2 separate regions of the Homo sapiens genome follow, and region 1 is linked to region 2. The links are contacts of gene promoters, found by promoter capture Hi-C in blood cells and fetal thymus (Javierre and others, 2016). All regions are on one chromosome and are shown on one strand. The core of a region is centred on a gene start or on the middle of the fragment in contact, and the rest is flanking DNA. Distances in the headings are between cores, read along the strand shown. Region 1 has its middle 13 kb from the start of LINC01489. Region 2 holds the start of ART4 (ADP-ribosyltransferase 4 (inactive) (Dombrock blood group)).

Region 1 (4,883 bases), core at 288-2,787, 170 kb after region 2:
GCAAATTGTTCTTTGTCCTTGAGATAAAATGAAAATTTGCTCTACTGGTTAAAAATTTACATGACACACATCCCAGAATGAATGTAAAAATGTTTTTGACAGAAGGAATGGAATTAGAAGGTCCACGACTCCAATTGAACTAGATAGAGCAGATCAGGCGTCTCACATTTGCACTCACATCTCTGACATGTGTTACCCACCATGGGATACTACATCAAAAATATTTAGTGTATTTTATTCTTAAGTCTGTTTTCCACACATAATGATCTTATGTTATTGCTTGGGACACATTTGCTCCGAGCTCACGTCTCGAAGCAGGAGTCCCATTGTGGGGCATACTCATACCAAACCTTCAGTGATTCTGAGAAGAACTCTGTGCTCACGTTCTCTTTTCTGCCTTCCTCTCACAGCAAGTCTTAGTTATATTGCCACAAAGCAGTTTACGTGACTTTACTGTGTCAAGAATGATCAGTTAACACACTCAAAGTAGGCTATTGTCTCTGTGACCTGACTAATGGGCCCACCCCACACTTTCGTACATGCCAGTTTGAAACCTACTATCTTCTTCAACCACCATGATGATAGAAAGTCTTGGCATTGGTTACTCCTTTCGGGAAATGCTGGTAATAAACATTGTAGGATGGATTATTGTTCTAAGCCAAGGTTTCTCAACCTTGACATTGGAGGCACTATCGACATTAGGCACGAAGTATTTCTACTTAGTATTTGGGGGGCTGTCCTGTGCATTGCAGGATGGCAGCCAGCATCTCTGGCTTCCACCCAATATGTGCCAGTAGCATAAAATGTCTCCAGACACTGCCAAATGTCCCCCAGGGAGAAAAACTGCCCTGATTGAGAACCACTGCAGTAAACTATTATCTCCCATCAGCTCCTTATAAATTGAACTTGCAGCAGTCTAGCAAGGCATTGAGAGAACGAGAGGTGTCTGAAGCTCAGGAAAATCTGCAGCTCAGAGAGCATCAGAAAATGGCTAGAAAGGGTAGGTCTGAACTGACTGTCACAGGGCAGGGACTTTCAGAGAGTCACAAGGAGATTGGATGAGGAAAAGACAGACAGGGATGAGGGGCATAAAGAAAGGCAACTGAAAAGAAGAAGAAATATTGAGAGCAATATGGCCTTCACTATAGGGCTTTCCTAGAAAACCAGAGGGGGAATCCATAACGGGCAGTCAGAAAACCAAGGTTCTGGTTTCAATTTCACTCTCCTGTTAGTTTTTAGATCACTTATGCTTGGTTTCCTTACCTATAAAACGTGGCTATGTTTCCAGACCTGATTATCTCAGATTGCTATATTAAGGCAATAATGGGAACATTCTCTGTAGATGTGTTTATAAAAGCGTCAAGAATTGCTATTTTTGTGCAGTTGTGCCTCACATATAAGTCAGATGGCTGAGAGGAAGTAACTCAAAATTACTGGGGGCCTGAGGATAGAGAGTCTGCTCGTGGCCAGAGTGGCCTCATGCAGTTTGTTGAAAACCCAGGTCATGCTTCCTCACCTAACCCTGGATGCCTGGGCATCAGGAGCAGTTATGAGGGGTATCCAGGAGTATAAAGTAATATCTGAGTAGATGGGAGAGTGAAATTCAACTGTTAGCATTTTTCATACCAAGGAATTTTTATTAATCTCAATTTACACTTGTGGGGTTTCCAAAAGTGGAGATCTCAGTAAATCTTAGCAATAGGCCATGGTATAGTCTGTACTGCTTGAGTTCTACGGTGGAAAGGAGAATACCTGCCTACCAAAAACTTAGAAAAATATTTTAGGTAAACTGGATACAGAATAATTATGGATTTTTTTTCTCATATTCCATATGGAGAGCTGATAAAATCATCCTCAAAGCATTTTTCTTTTAAATTTAAGACTCAGGTTATCTAGCAAACAAGATGGAAACAAGTGAAAATACCAGTTTGGAAACTAAAGCAAAAAGATCCTTTGGAAATTCCTAAAACTGTTTTGAGGATCAGTTCAAGTTTGAAAGAAAGATTTAGTGCTTATTTTTTTCAACTCTTATAAAAATGACTAAACACATTCGTCCTCTGAAGTAGACTCCAGACTTTTGCACCTGGCCAAAAGGAAGAAACACTTCAGCTCAGATCAACCCAGTTTTTACTGGAATACTTGCGGCAGAACTGAGAAGTGCAGGTATAAGCACAATGACTGGATTATTCCCATCTTCTGCTTATTTAAGAAGTTAGGCATTATTCTTTCTCATTTGCAGACTTTCTGTTTACTAAACTACAAATAAAAGTGTGCAGAGATATGCTTCAGGTTTCCTATTTCTGAAATGCTGTTGGAGATTGCAATTGTACTAAGTTGGAAATTGAGAACTTAATTATTTTAAAATCTAGTCAAGTGAGAGGGAACTATCAACTGCAGAGATACCAGAGTTTTTTGACATTGTTCCTGGCCTTTGGGGATGAAGTCTAACACTCCCCTTTTACAGTTCTCCCTCTCTTCATTCCCTAAAACCAGAGAGCTGAACCTATTTGCAAAACATTGTTACTTCAGGCATCTCATGGGGGATGATTAATAAGTAACCATGGTTAAATGATACAAGGAATAAAATAGCTAGTTGCCAGAAAGACAAAGGTGACCTGGAGAACATCAGAAGATTTTGAGGAAAATAAGGGCTCTAAACAGACGTTATATATTTGCTTTGTTTCTGTCAAATGCTAGGATCTCAATCAATGCATCCCCAGAACAGTTCAGAGAGTAGAGCTGTGGTAGCATCTGATGATGGGTCTTATTGCAAAATGGGCTATCCACTCTCAAAGTTAGTGGGTTCCTTACCACAAAATAATTTCTAATGAGAAGAATGATTTCTGCCATGTTAAGGAAACTTGCAAAATAGATGGGTAAGCCCTCACAACTCCTACTTACCTGGAAATTATATGATTTATATGTGTTGTTGGATTATTAGAACTTTTTGAGAAAAACACTGAAACCATGTTTTAAAAACAGGTAGGTTCATTTTATAGGCTACAACATGGATGAATCTTGAGGACATTATGCTAAATGAAATAAGCTAGTCACAAAAAGACAAACACTGTATAAACCCACTTAAATGAGGTATCAAACTCATAGAAACATAAAGTAGAATGGTGGTTGCCAGGGGCTGGGTGAAGGGTCAAATGAGCTGCTGCTCAATGGGTATAGAGTTTGAGTTTTGCAAGATGAAAACGTTCTGGATATCTATTGTACAATAATAGGAATAAACTTAATGCCAATCAGCGGTGCACGTACAAATGGTTAAGATGGTAAATTTTATGTTTGTGATTTTCAACACAATTAAAAATTTTTAAAGTATTTTAAAGTGTATACTATTTGCTAAATAAAAGAACTTTGTTTAAAAACCCTGGCAAGACGAACTGAGTAGAATCATGGAACACAGAGGGTATAGCTGAGTGAGTGTGATTGTAATTAGTAGACTGTTAGTCTTCCACGCAACCTCACAGATCGGAGAATGAGAATCACTAAGAATCACATTGAGGAGAAAGAACAGCACTTCCTCTGCTCATTTTCTGTGACGTGACCTAGAAAAAGATTTATCATGCAATAATCCAATAGATATTTACGGAACATGTAGGAAGGGGCCAATAATTATGCTAGGTGGGGATTCAGCAATGAATGCATTTCACACCTCAGTCTATTGTAAATTCCCCTGCTGAGGCTTTCAGCAACCTTCTAGTTACTAAATTCACTAGAAGCGTGTTTTACAGAGCCACACTGATTATTTCCTCCACTTAAAACTTTCTTCTTTATTGGCTTACATATCACTCTCCCTGATGTTTATTTTCCTACTTAAGCTGCTTACTCTGCCTTATCCATAAATACTGGTTGGTATTTTTCAGGGTTTCATCTTAGGTCCCCTTTTTCTCAACACATAGTAAATCCTATCAATGAGCTAATGGCCCCAAATCTTATCTTTAGCTCAAACTTCTTTTTCTGGGCCCCAGAATGCTATATCTTATAAATTACTAGATAGCTTTGTTTGAATGTTCCAAATGCAACATGTTTAAGACTCAACTAATTCTCTTTTCCTGATGTTCTTCTATTTTAAACACACTATATTAGAAAAGGACATTGTCATTAAATTAATTGCCCAAGTCAGAAACTGGAAGTTGTTCTGTATTTCTTCCTCTACCCTATCCTCATCTAGAATGAGTCAACATGGCCTGTTCATTTTATTTCCTTAACACTTCTTAAAAATGACCCCGCCTCTCCTTCATCCTTTCTGTCCCTTCTTGAGTTCTCGTTTGATGGCCTCATTTAAGTTATTTCAATAGACTCCTTATTAGTTTCTGTACAACTAGCTTTGCCTTCCCTTAATGCATCTGATACATTGCTATCAGAATAGTCTTAACACGCAAATATGATTCTATTGTTTTCTTTGTGCAAAATTCTTTAGTGGCTCCTGGTTACCTGTAAGATAAACTCTTCACACTTTTTCAGTGTCTTGGATTTTCCCTTGTCCCTCTTTTCAAGCACCATCTCCTACTTATATTACCTTTGCATCCTATTCTTAAGCAAAATTCAACTCCTTAGTGTGAGAACACACAGGCTTGCTTTTGTTTCTGTACTATTTCCTTTGATTGGAGTATTTTCCTGCAAACTGTCCTGTGAGCCCTTTTATAAAAGAGAATGTACTTTTCAGAGCATAGTCTTTTTTTGTAGGTGGTTCATGACTATGGTTTTATTATTTTGTTGATTTTAAAAGTACACATGGTCTGGACAGACATCTCACCAAAGAAGATGTACAGATGGGAAATAAGCATATAAAAAGATGCTCAACATCATAGCTCATTAGGTAATTGCAAATTAAAATAACGATGAGATACCACTACATATCACTTTAGAATGGC
Region 2 (4,338 bases), core at 512-3,011:
TTGTTAAGAGCAAATTCCAGAATGGGACCGACTCGTTTGCAGGCAGTACTGAACTGGGGCCTGCCCAGGTAAGATTCTTGTCATGGGGAAACAGAGAACTGATGCCCTTTGCCATCAGGCTAACTCCCAGGAGGATGAAGAGCAGAGCCAAACTCAGCACACCCAGTTGTTTTTTCCCATGTTACCAGTCAAGTACATTTGTCCCCCTCAGGGACAGCAGAGTGAGTCAAGGGTTGGACAGTGGTCAGGAATGTGCCTAGGAAAGTCCCTCCCCTCCTGGAAAAGGACATTCCTTTCTAATGGGTAGCCAACAGAATGTTGTTTATTCACGTCTAGTGCATGCTAAACTGAAATGACAGATTTGAATAGAAGTCCACAAAATATCATCAGACTATCATTTAGAGCCATATATAAATTATATAAATTCTAAAACATTCCTTTCTTGGCAAAGAAATGATGTTTTCGTAATAAACAGTACTCATTGAGGGACATGTTAAAGGATCACATTCCATCCAGTCAATGTTAAGGATGTTGGAACTGGAACTTAAAGAACATCCCATTTGGTATTTTTACTATGTTATTTATGATGAGACGTCAGCTAGTTGTTTGTGAACTAGAACACATTTTTAAGACTGATTAAATGATTTTAACCAATAACTCTTCACATCAGGTATTAAAATAGGTCTACGGTATCTATTTAAGCCAAGCCGAGCCAAACCAAACCAATAATACAATGTTCTGTCAACTGTCATGATGAACTCTGAAACTTTGTTAATATGTTACTAGATCTCAAATATGTACTCTGTCATCTCTTAACATTAGGTTGTTTTTTGTTACACAGATCTTTATTAAAATATTCACTTAAAACTTAAGTCAATCTGTATGCTAGAGTTTAAAGCCAAATAGACTTGGTTTATTTTGCATTGTTTGTACTATGGAAGCAATATTTTACTTAATTTTTACAGTGGATCAGGAAAATAACTTTATGCCACTAGCATCCATAATGTCAAGTGTACTAACAGTGAAGGATTCTACAATTTTTCATAACTGTTTTCAACACTCTTTACTAACATGATTTGTTAAAATGTCTGAATGAAACTAGATTCTGAATGCCTAAGTTTTCGGCCATTTAAAGGCTGTGGCCGGGTGAATGCTCTGTTGGAGCACTGATCATAAAGAGATCACCCCCTCAATTGTCCCCCTACCTCAGAACCCTCTGTGGGTCTCTGCAGGCCAGAGAGGAGCAGCAGGAATGGCAGCAGGCCTCCAAGGAGCCAGATTCTCATCGTTGCAGGAGGTACAGTAGTTGGGAGAAGAATCTTCTTGCATCTGTTGATCAATGGACCCATTTGCTTGTGTCACAAGTACTTCTCCTTTGCCCTTGCAGCTTCATCCTGAGATGAATTCTCAGAGTTCTCCTTTGAGGTTTTCTTTCAGTCTCATCCGTAACCGTTTTTTCCCCTGTCTATGCTGAGCAACTTCTGTTGCCCACCAACAACCAATAGCTTGTCTGAGGGAAGAAATCAACTCCGACTTCTTTGCAAAACTGAAATCTCTGTGAAATAGCCAGATGCGCACACCAAATAAGGGTTTCTAAAGAGAACCCAAGTTACTTTTCAATTAAAAAAATAAAATCTCTGATCTAGTCTGTATTCAGGGGAATGCCGAAGTCCTGTTAAGTGTCAGACTCAGCAGTTCAGCCTTCCCTTTCCCAGCCAAACAGGAAAAAGCATGCTCTGTCCAGCGTTTGGGGCCAAGTAGCATTATCTGGAGCCCCAGGCTTCCATCAAAACTGATAAGATTGGCATGCGCAGGGCGGCTGGGAACGCGCCACCCTGGGTGTCTATAGGCTCATCTGGCCCTGCTGATAGGCCCTGCCCAGGACGGGCGTTCACAGAGCAAAGTGTGTTTTAGAGTTATTGTCAAAAAGAAGGCTCTTTGTACTGCTTTTCCCTGGCACCTTTGAAACTCTCCAATCCAGAGATTGTACCTCTGGGTTCAAAGCTCTTCCCCCATTTTCTCTTCTGAAGACAGGCCCTCTGTCCGCACAGTTCCAGTCTCCAGTGAATCCTAATGACGACTGTCAGGAGACTGCTTATGTAGAGCTGACATAAGTTAAAATAGGGTCCACTGTGCAAACTTAATCCAGCACAGTTCTATTAAGCACTCTCTTTTAGGTAGGTACTACCCTTTCTAGTCTAAACATCCTTCTTCTCCTCCCAACCCTTGATATAATTATATTTTCTTGCAAATATTTTGTATTTATACTTCTGGATTCATTATTTAAGAAACTAAAAGTTAGCAATCCTTGATAATTGTTTTTCTTGCAAATATTTACTTCTGGATTCAATTTTTAACTTTTAAGGTAAACTAAGTGCTGTTCTTAAGTATTCTAGAATTTTTTGGCACCCTGAATTTTTTTAATCTAAATTTTCTGATGATCACAGCAGTTCTGTCTCATTAACAAATATTCAGAATATTTAGAAAGCACAAAGGAGAAAAAAATGACACATAACCCGTCACTTGGAGACAGCCACTAATTAGGTCTGGATTTTGATTTATACACCCTTAGACATACACACACACAGGTTTCTAGAACTGAAATAATATAGTATGCAGTTTTGCATACTGTTTATTCCCCTTAATATTTTAATGTAAGCATGTCCCTATATAATTTAATACCTATTGAAACATTTTTTAAACAAAGGTTCACTATATTCCATTACATAGGTGCTGCCACACAATGGGACAGCATGGGTGGATCCATGGACAGTCTCAGAAGAAGATTGATAAGTGACTAGAACATGGACTCTTGAATAAGACATCTCAGTTCAATTCCTGGTGCTCCTTCTTCCTAAATGTGTGATCTTGGACAAGCTACTTAACCTCTCTGTCTCTCTGTTTCCTCATGTGTTGAATGGAGATAATAATAGTACCAACTTCATTTTAGTGTTGATACATTCATACTCCTTAGAATAGCATCTGGCACCTAGAAATTTTCCAACAAATAAAACCAATTATTATTATTTGCACCAAAGTTTATTTAATAAATATCTTATATTTAGCTTGTTTTCAACTACATAAATTTTTGTGTGTTTCTCACAATTTTTAAGATGCAGTTCTAGAGATGTGACTACTGATCCATGGAATGCATATTTTTCAGATTTAATGGCAACCACTAGCAGTGTGTGAAAATATCCCTTTAAGACTTTAACAATTCTTAAGGTTCCTTATTAGCAACTGTTACTTTGGAATATTGAGATGTCATGAAGAGAACTAGACTTAGAATATGAAAATTTGAATTATAGTTTGAGTTCTACCCACAATGCTGGCTGAGGTAACTTTAAAAAATAAGTAATTTGTGCTTAGCCTCAGTTTCCTTAACCTTATAGAAAGTTGTCAGGCTTAAATAAGGTGAAACTTTTCTTTTATTGAGCAAGTACTGTACTTCAAGACCTTTTTGCATGTTATCTCAACCCATGGGACGACCATGAAGAGATATTTTAACCTTTCCTTTATAAATGTGGTTGTTGAGGCCCTGTGAAGTTTAATAACTTTTTAGTAATCACAGGTGCTTTTCTGTCTCCTGAAGCCCACGATCTTAAAACACTCTAAAAGAGTGTGTCATTTTATTATTATCTTCTATAAAGGTTTTGCTATTTTTCCTATCGTGACTGCCACTTCCAGGATAAGACCACTGGAGGGCAGCAGAAAACTTTGTAACATTTTATACCACTCAGTCTAAAAGAGGGAGAACAGAAAAGGGAATGGGGCAGGGAGCAGGAAGGGGGATAGAAAGAGAGAGAGAGAGGGAGAAAGATAGAGGGAGAGAGGGAGAGAGAGTGAGGGGGAGAGCAAAAGAGAAGGGGAGCGAGAGAGTGGGGAGGGGAGGGGAGAGAGAGAAGGTAGGGAGAGAGAGAGAAGGTGGGGAGAGAGAGAGAAAGAGAGAGACAGAGAGAGAGAACCATCAGTGAAAACAACTGGGGTAGGGAAAAGCTCAAGTTCTGGTGTATATGTGAACATATTTGAATTAAAATGAAAAGTTAAGTTTTCTGATTGTTTGGAGTCAATAAAAAGTCATCTTTTGCCTTAAGGGCTATCTTATTAAGATTCTCATGTAATAATTTAATATTAGTTAATTTAGAGTTTGGGGTGCATTCAGTTATCATTTAATGATACCCAGTTCTTCAAAATGCAGCCTATTTGTGCTGTCTTGATGGGTTGGGATATAAGTTTTGAAGTAGCACAGACCTTGTGTTGGAATTTTACTTCCATCACTTCCTACCTTTGTGAGTTGGAACAAATTACACTAATTCTCAGTTGCATTTTCTTCATATG

Evidence for each region. Contacts are between HindIII fragments. The CHiCAGO score rates a contact against its expected background, and 5 or more counts as called.
Region 1: a fragment that was not itself captured here is called in contact with the fragment with the promoter of ART4 in region 2 in 4 of 17 cell types (naive CD8 T cells, activated CD4 T cells, naive CD4 T cells and 1 more); the score reaches 6.7 in naive CD8 T cells.

The regions. Positions count from the first base shown.
Region 1 is chr12:15,012,781-15,017,663 of GRCh38, forward strand. No RefSeq gene overlaps it. Among named protein-coding and RNA genes, the nearest start is that of LINC01489, 13 kb to the left of the region's middle. The HindIII fragment of the contact is 8,800 bases long and covers 1-4,883 here.
Region 2 is chr12:14,841,765-14,846,102 of GRCh38, forward strand. ART4 (ADP-ribosyltransferase 4 (inactive) (Dombrock blood group)) reads right to left here and starts at 1,762. Exons shown (of 3, transcript NM_021071.4): 1 at 1,206-1,762. The coding sequence starts at 1,349. The HindIII fragment of the contact is 16,901 bases long and covers 1-4,338 here.